Regions from separate parts of the Homo sapiens genome. Here region 2 is linked to region 1. The links are contacts of gene promoters, found by promoter capture Hi-C in blood cells and fetal thymus (Javierre and others, 2016). All regions are on one chromosome and are shown on one strand. The core of a region is centred on a gene start or on the middle of the fragment in contact, and the rest is flanking DNA. Distances in the headings are between cores, read along the strand shown. Region 1 holds the start of ZNF582 (zinc finger protein 582). Region 2 overlaps ZNF71 (zinc finger protein 71).

What was found. The method cuts DNA at HindIII sites, captures the fragments that hold promoters and counts their contacts. A CHiCAGO score of 5 or more calls a contact.
Region 2: a fragment that was not itself captured here is called in contact with the fragment with the promoter of ZNF582 in region 1 in 1 of 17 cell types (total CD8 T cells); the score reaches 5.0 in total CD8 T cells.

The regions. Positions count from the first base shown.
Region 1 is chr19:56,391,139-56,394,937 of GRCh38, reverse strand. It overlaps ZNF582 (zinc finger protein 582), which reads left to right and starts at 1,404. Exons shown (of 5, transcript NM_001320371.4): 1 at 1,404-1,718; 2 at 3,106-3,194. The coding sequence starts at 3,186. It overlaps ZNF582-DT (ZNF582 divergent transcript), which reads right to left and starts at 1,262. Exons shown (of 2, transcript NR_037160.1): 1 at 885-1,262. The HindIII fragment of the contact is 9,401 bases long and covers 1-3,799 here.
Region 2 is chr19:56,599,118-56,603,148 of GRCh38, reverse strand. ZNF71 (zinc finger protein 71) reads right to left here. Exons shown (of 4, transcript NM_001370215.1): 2 at 1,558-1,642. The coding sequence starts at 1,590. It overlaps ZNF71-SMIM17 (ZNF71-SMIM17 readthrough (NMD candidate)), which reads right to left. Exons shown (of 5, transcript NR_163263.1): 2 at 1,558-1,642. Among named protein-coding and RNA genes, the nearest start is that of ZNF71-SMIM17, 5.8 kb to the right of the region's middle. The HindIII fragment of the contact is 197 bases long and covers 1,174-1,370 here.

The sequences.
Region 1 (3,799 bases), core at 155-2,654:
ATTTGACCCTCAGGACAAAGCTGCAAGCCCAGCATTACATTCTTCCTTTTATGGACAAAAAAAAAAAAACAAAACAAAACCGAGATAGGCACGAAGAAACTAATAAATGGCTGAAATGCTATTTGAATCCACATCTGTCTAATTCTAAAAGTGTGCTTTCCACCACATCACCGCACCTACAAGGAAAATGCAGCCTCTACCCTCTCCTGAAGAATGTGTAAAGAGGCAATATGGTGTGTTTTGGAAAAAGCATCTTTGCAGAAAGAAAGCATTAGCTTCAGTCATATTAGCATCCTTATCCAGCAGCAGTAGCATTATTTTACATATCAGTTACTCCTCCCCAACAACTCAATGAATTAGATGCCACAATCATCCTCACTTTCAAATGTGGAGACCGAGGCACATCTCTAAGACTGGAGTTCAGGCATTCTGGCTCCAGTCTTAGAGATGGTTAAGGGTTCACACTCTTAACCATTTATTACACCATAGAGCTCACCAGGTTTGAGGGAAACAGGATCAAATCAAAAGAGTCACTCAGGACTCCAGTCCTCACTCAAGGACAAACTGTTCCACCTCGGACAGGGAGAGTTTCCGCATTCTGAGACCCAGCATAACAGGTCCTGACCGGCATCTGGCACTCGGACTCCCAATCATACTGGATCACACTGGCTCGGGATGTGTAAAGTCCAGGGCTTCTCACATTTGATGACACCAAAGCCGCCTAAAAACAAGAGAGAATTAACAACTACCTACGGCGGTCTGATATTTGCCCAAGAGATGCCGCCCCATAAAACTCCTTTACATCTTTATAACGTTTTTATTTTGCGTTCTCCTTCATAACCCACATTTAACTCACCATAGATGTAATGTTTAAAATTAGTTACCAGATAAACTCTTACGCTTCCAAACTTTAAGGTTCCTTCGAAACCTTCTGGTAAAACTGTTGTTCCACGGAAATGGGAACGTAACGGATGAGGCAATCTTCCACAGCCGCACACAGTTGTGTATCCACCGCTAAACGGTCCCAGTCATACATTCAACGACCCACGCGGAGTCAGAAGCTACCACCACACACTGTCAAAATCACGCACACACAGTGACGGCCCCTTGCCCACTCGGTCACTCGCCCACAATCTCTCGCTAGAGAATCACACGCAGATAGCACACCCAGCACCACAGACCCCAGGAAGCAACCCAGGGACTCGAACACACGAACAGCACTCCTCCGCGCACTGCGCAGGCACGCCTGCGTCCGGCTCACCCTGAAACATCGCGAGATCCGGCTTCAAGGCCGGGCTGCTGCCTTTACGCCTAAAGACTATGTTTCCCGGAAGACACTGCGGCGCCGGCCCTATCATGGCGCAGCATCGGTGTGCTTTGTGCGTCTGCGCCATCTTCCGGCTGCGCACGGCGAATCCACCGGTACCGTGGTGGAAGCGCGCCCTGGGCTGCCGGGGGCGCGGCCGCGGTGGCACTTGGACCCGAGGAGGCGGCAGGTGAGAGGTTCCGGAGCTTTCCAGGCGCTCTGGGGTCCAGCAGGAGCTGGTGCCCGGGCCGGTTGGGTCTCAGGCCTGAGAAGAACGCAGACGTCTCGCCTCATCGTCGCTCTGTGGCTTTACCGGCGTGAGACTACATTTCCCGCCGGCCCTCGCGGCGTGCGCTTTCTGGCGCCCCCTTTCTGCTTCCAGCCTCATAGCCCAGGTGCATGGACCCCTTAGGTGGGTGCGCAGGGGTCTCCGACCCCCTGAAATTGCGGATGTTTTGCATTCACTGTTATGCGTGCCTTTTTTTTTTTTTAATCTGAGAGGAAATCTTGTTTCATGAGGTTCTCAGAGAGTTACAAGACCCCAGAAGACTTAGAACCGCTAGTTTAGAAAAACTTATACTTGGGAACATTTTATATGTTCAAATTCTATGTCCAGCAATGGGGAAACACTTGAGTGGATCACAGGCCATCCTTTGTAAATAGGATATCGTGCAGTTAATACAAATAATGCTTATAAAAGTGGTCATAATAAGGAAAAGCTGCCTATTACATCATATTAAGCAACATTCATAATTATTTCACTTACACGTTACTTAGAACCAAATGTTTGTAATGCAGTAGGCACCTTATATACTCCTTTACAGAGTACTTCTTGTTTAACAGTGAGCTCAAGAACTGGTTAAATGACAACACTGCGAATACTTGGGTGTTTTTTCTTCCAATTTTTTTGTTTTGTTTTGTTTTTAGCCTGTGTGTTAGTGAGTTTGACTTCTTTTTGCTGAATGTTCTCAAAGGATTCAGTAGTTAATATCTTTGCTTGTCAGTTTTTGATAGTCATTTTTGATAGTCACTTGGCATCCCATTATATGGCTGTGCCAAAAATGATTCAACCTCTTGGCTACTTGTGGACTTGCCTACTTACGTACTAATTTTCAGTTCTCCTATTTAGCAAATATTATTGGACATGCAGCTTTGTGCACTGCTGTGTCTCTATGGAAGGACACATTTATGTGCTGATAATGGAGCACTGGGCGTGCTGTGTGTAATTTGTCTCTTACTGTTCCTTCCAACTCTATCCCATTTGTTGATGCAAGGCATGCTCCATGAAGTGGCATGCACAAAGCCTCAGTTTGGGCTGTAGAGCTTTTTGTATATTTGGCGGTTGGGAAAAGAGCCAGGTAGACTTTCAAAGGTGTTATATTTGCTGCAGGAGAGAGTTAAATGGCCTAGTCCTGGAAAGGCTTTATTCTAGGCTGGGGCTATGCAAATGATGCAGGCCTTCTATGCTCCCTGGCTTGAGGGAAGCCCTCCTTGTCCTTGAGGTAACATGTGGGTCTCAGTCACTAGAACAGCCCTCAGCATCCCTGTCTTAGACTTGCATTTGCAGCAAAACAGAACCACTGGATGTTTAGGGGAAATGGGAGGGAAAGGACCACTGGTTCCCCTTTGCCTTGCAGCAGCTAAAGCTGGTTTCCTGGGGTTGGGTGAGGATCCCTTTGCCTCCCCCTCCTTCTCATTTTCTTGGTGGGCAGAGGGCAAGCAGGTGGGGACTTGTAACTTGGCATTCTAGGAACTGTGAGGCAAGCCTAGCCTCTCATGTTTGCTCTTTCCTCCCCCAGCTCTACCGTCGCAGGACTCTGCCCTTCCCCAAGAGAGGAACCAGAAGGAGGACCTATCAGCCCTTGAAATTCTAAAAGTCATGTCCCTTGTGAGTTTTTAAATCCCATAAATATTTGCTTTCCTTATCTTGAAACTTTCCACCTGGGTTCCATCCAGAAATTTGGTTCTCAGACTTTCCCATTTTAGGGAATAAAAGGACCAGGCAGGAGTCTCCTCTCCCATTGTCCTCTCCCCTCTGACAAATGCCCACAGATTTATTCTCTATAGCATTCTGCATCTCCTGATGGTTTTCGTCTGCTAGGAGGAGAAACTCATTTCCCTGTATGAAATGAGAGCATCCTTTGTAAGAACTGAAGTTTGAAGAGATGGAATGAATGCTTAGGAGCAATCACATATAGAAAAGCAGGGGAGGTGGTGTTGGTTGGTTTCAGTTTCAGCGCATGGTACAGTGTCCTGCTTTGGGAATGATTAATGATTGGATATGTAATTGAGGTTTGGCTGGGAATCCATCAAAAATTTGATGCCAGAATTAAAGTCTAGTTTGACGTTGGACAGAGCATTTGAATCTGGGACATCCTCCATTAGTTTCTTTAGCTTAAGAGGAAGAAAAGTACAGAGCTGAGGATGGTGAGCGATGTAGCAAGTGAGATGATCATCTAGGTGGGTGAGTGGTCAGGGCTTGGAAAAGCCTTA
Region 2 (4,031 bases), core at 23-2,522, 210 kb before region 1:
TGGTTAACGCGACTCTATGAATGTACCCAAAATCAGTGAATTGTACACTTTGTGATACGTGATGTGTACCTCAACAAAGGTACCAAACAAATGAAGACAGAATAAACCAAAGCTCCCAAATAAGTCTACTGACACATTTATATAGCAAAATCAATTACAGGTAGATTCAAAAGTTCATTGTTAACATTCAAATGACAAATGGTGAAAAGGAAGAAAATATAGCTGCTATGTGACCTGTGGATGGAGAAACCCTTTCACAGCTTAAAGATGAAGAAAGACACCACAGTGGGAGAAACCAACAGATTTGATTTTAAAAATATGAAATGCTTTTATACAGAAAAAATAAAGTAAAATAAAGAAACAAAAAGCAAATCTGGGAAGAATATTTGCCACAAATATTTACACACACACATTTGCTTCTGTAAAGTCTTTAAAGCATACTCAGATTCCTGTAGACTGCTAAAGCACAAGATGGATCATTTCCCTGCCCACAGAAATGGCTAGTAAACATTTTCTAAGACTTGAACTTCACTAATAATACAAACAATGCTACTCAGAAATAAATCACGTGGCACCATTTGTCCCCTATCAGGCTCATCATGGTTTATAGCATTTGTCATTTATATCCATTTATCATTTATTATCATGGTGCAATATTGCACCAATCTAAATATATCCAACATGCAGAATAAATGCCTGACAACAGCCATATAAATCATCAGAGACCCGCTCAGACATGCTGGTGGGAATACATACCGCCGTAACTGATGTGGAAATAATATCAAAATACCTCAAAAATACCCAACCCAATCTTCCTCTTCAAGGAATCACTCCTAAAGAAATCATATAAGACACAAAGAAAGATTTGTGCCCAGTGTCCCTCATGACACTGTTTATAACCAAAAAAAGAATACTTGGAAACCAATAAAGGTCCAACAACAGAGGAACCATTAAGTAAACCAGGGTATGGCCACTGAACAACACTTTTATGGGGTCATTAAGATGGACGTTACAAAGGAGTTTTTAATGATGTGGAGAAATGCTCAGGATGAAATCTCTGATGAAAAAGCAATCTTTAACATTAAAATTGCTTAGCCAGACTCAAACATTCCAGAGTGATTATCTTTTGGGGTAAAATCATGGGTGAATTTGTGGGCCTCATTCCCATAAGCTTTTGTACTTTCATCACACATGTGGGCATTCACATTCACAAGAAGCATTTAGTGTGTTTGCCCATTTTAAAGGTCACACATCCAGCATGGTCCTGCGCAAGTTTTCACTCAATGTCACATGTCTAAACCACCACTTCCCACAGGTGCCCACCTGTGTCTCCTAAGAGTCCAGAGAGCTAGTTTGGCCATTCCAAAGCTTCCCTGTCCCCTACAACTGACCCCACAGCCAGGGTCAGCATCATCTATAAGCACAGCCCTCTTCATCAGGGCAGACACAGCCCCAGAAGATGGGACTGGGGGCCTTGGAGAGGGTTCGAGCAGCAGAGGCTCACCCAAGGCAGGATCCAGCCTTTGGAAAGGAGAGTGACAGGGCAACATGACTCACCAGTGCCTCATCAGTCAGCAGCTGAGCAGCCATCCCTCTGCTGCCCACGGTGAATAGGAAGACAGGCCTGCGGTGACCAACAGTGCTGTAGGGAGAAGAAAGAGGGAGGCATGCTGAGAGACCAGGCCTAGGCTGGCCTCACAAATGTAGACAGGACAGACACACACCCACTGAGAGACAAGCAGAGACAGACAGATAGACACACATACACATACATCAACAGTGAGTATTTAGAGGGCTTACTGCATGTAGGGAACTTGAATGTATATCACTTGATCTTCCAACCATCCTGGAAGGTAGGTACTACTTCTACCTACCCATTTCACAGATGAGGAGGCTGAGGCCCGAGGAGATTAAACCACTTGCTCAAGATTACAGAGCTGGGACTGGAGTCAGGCAGAGTATGTCTGGGTCCACAGCTTAGCCTCCAGGCTACAATGCCTCACAGATGCACTCCCATGTACACTCCTATAGATATGGTTAACACACATACACTCACACACATTCCCGCAGGCTGCTGAGGGCCACCGGACACCCTGCCTTCTCCCAATGGCCCTGCCCGGATCCCTCCTTGAGTGTGAGTGCTGGACTGAGGCCCCCTGAGATGCCCCAGAACCACCTGTGGCCTCTTTGGGCACTTCCCCCAGACTTCATGGGGTTACCATGAGGTTCAACTAGCAGATATGAGTGTAAGGAACTTCCACCCAGGGGCTCTCAGAGCCAGATTCGCCTAGAGAAATGCATCTTGATTCAATTCTCCTCCAGTTCTCCTGACAAGCTCAGGATAAAGTCTCAAGTGGAGAGATATCTTAACATCCCTGCAACCCATCACTCGCCCCTTGAAACAAAAGAAAAGCAGGAGAATAAGATCCTGTGATTTGCAACAACATGGATAAAACTGGAGGTCATTATGTTAAGTGAAATAAGCCAGGCATAGAAAGACAAACTTTGCAAGTTCTCACTTGTGTGAGCTAAAAATTAAAACAAACTCATGGAGATAGAGACTAGAATGATGAAGAAACCTGAGGCTGGGAAGGGTAGTGGAAGGGTGGGGGGAATGTGGGGATGGCTAATTGGTATTAAAAAAATACAGAGGGCCGGGCGCGGTGGCTCACGCCTGTAATCCCAGCACTTTGGGAGGCCGAGGCGGGTGGATCATGAGGTCAGGAGATCGAGACCATCCTGGCTAACAAGGTGAAACCCCGTCTCTACTAAAAATACAAAAAATTAGCCGGGCGCGGTGGCGGGCGCCTGTAGTCCCAGCTACTCGGGAGGCTGAGGCAGGAGAATGGCGTGAACCCGGGAAGCGGAGCTTGCAGTGAGCCGAGATTGCGCCACTGCAGTCCGCAGTCCGACCTGGGCGACAGAGCGAGACTCCGTCTCAAAAAAAAAAAAAAAAAAAAAAATACAGAGGGTTGCAGTGAGCCAAGATTGCACCACTGCACTCCAGCCTGGCAACAGAGCGAGACTCCATCTCAAAAAAAAAAAAAAAAAACAAACCCCAAAAAAACAAAAAAACACACACACAAAGAATGAATAAGACCTACTATTTGACAGCACAACAGGGTGACTATGATCAATAATAATTTAATGATACATTTAAAAATAACTGGCCGGGCGCAGTGGCTCATGCCTGTAATCCCAGCACTTTGGGAGGCCGAGGCGGGCGGATCACGAGGTCAGGAGATCAAGACCACGGTGAAACCCCGTCTCTACCAAAAATACAAAAAATTAGCCGGGTGTGGTGGCAGGTGCCTGTAATCCCAGCTACTCGGGAGGCTGAGGAAGGAGAATGGCATGAACCCAGGAGGCGGAGCTTGCAGTGAGCTGAGATGGCAACACTGCACTCCAGCCTGGGTGACAGAGCGAGACTCCATCTCAAAAAAAAAAAAAAACAAAACACTAAAAATGTAATCAGATTGTTTGTAACACAAAGGATAAATCCTTGAGGTGACAGATACCCCATTTATCCTGATGTGATTATTACACATTGTATGCCCGTATCAAAATATCTCATGTACTCCATAAATATATAAACCCACTACACACCCAGAAAAATTAAAAATTAAAATTAAAAAGAAAAGCAGGGTTCAGGCCCCAAAGTTAGGGTGACCATAATATCTCATTAGAACTACCTGGCTTTACTTCAATTTGTTTTAAAGTTTGTTTCCCTTCTTACAGCAAAACTCAGCTTCTTTTACAGCAGTCACACAGAATACCCTTTTAAACTAAGTTGATTTAAATTAAAAACAAAAAAAAAATCAGTGAGCCAAATCAAGTAAATGGCAAAGTAAAAAAATAGGATCCATGACACAGATGAGGACAAATTCTTGGAGTCTGAGACATGCTGGCTCAGTCCTGGCTTCTCCCGTGATGGGGGCTCACTACCCGTGCCACCAACACCTCTGACTGGAAATGAGTTTTTCTTCTGCTATAAACAGAAACATGCCTCTCTACATCTCCAACCCTTCAAG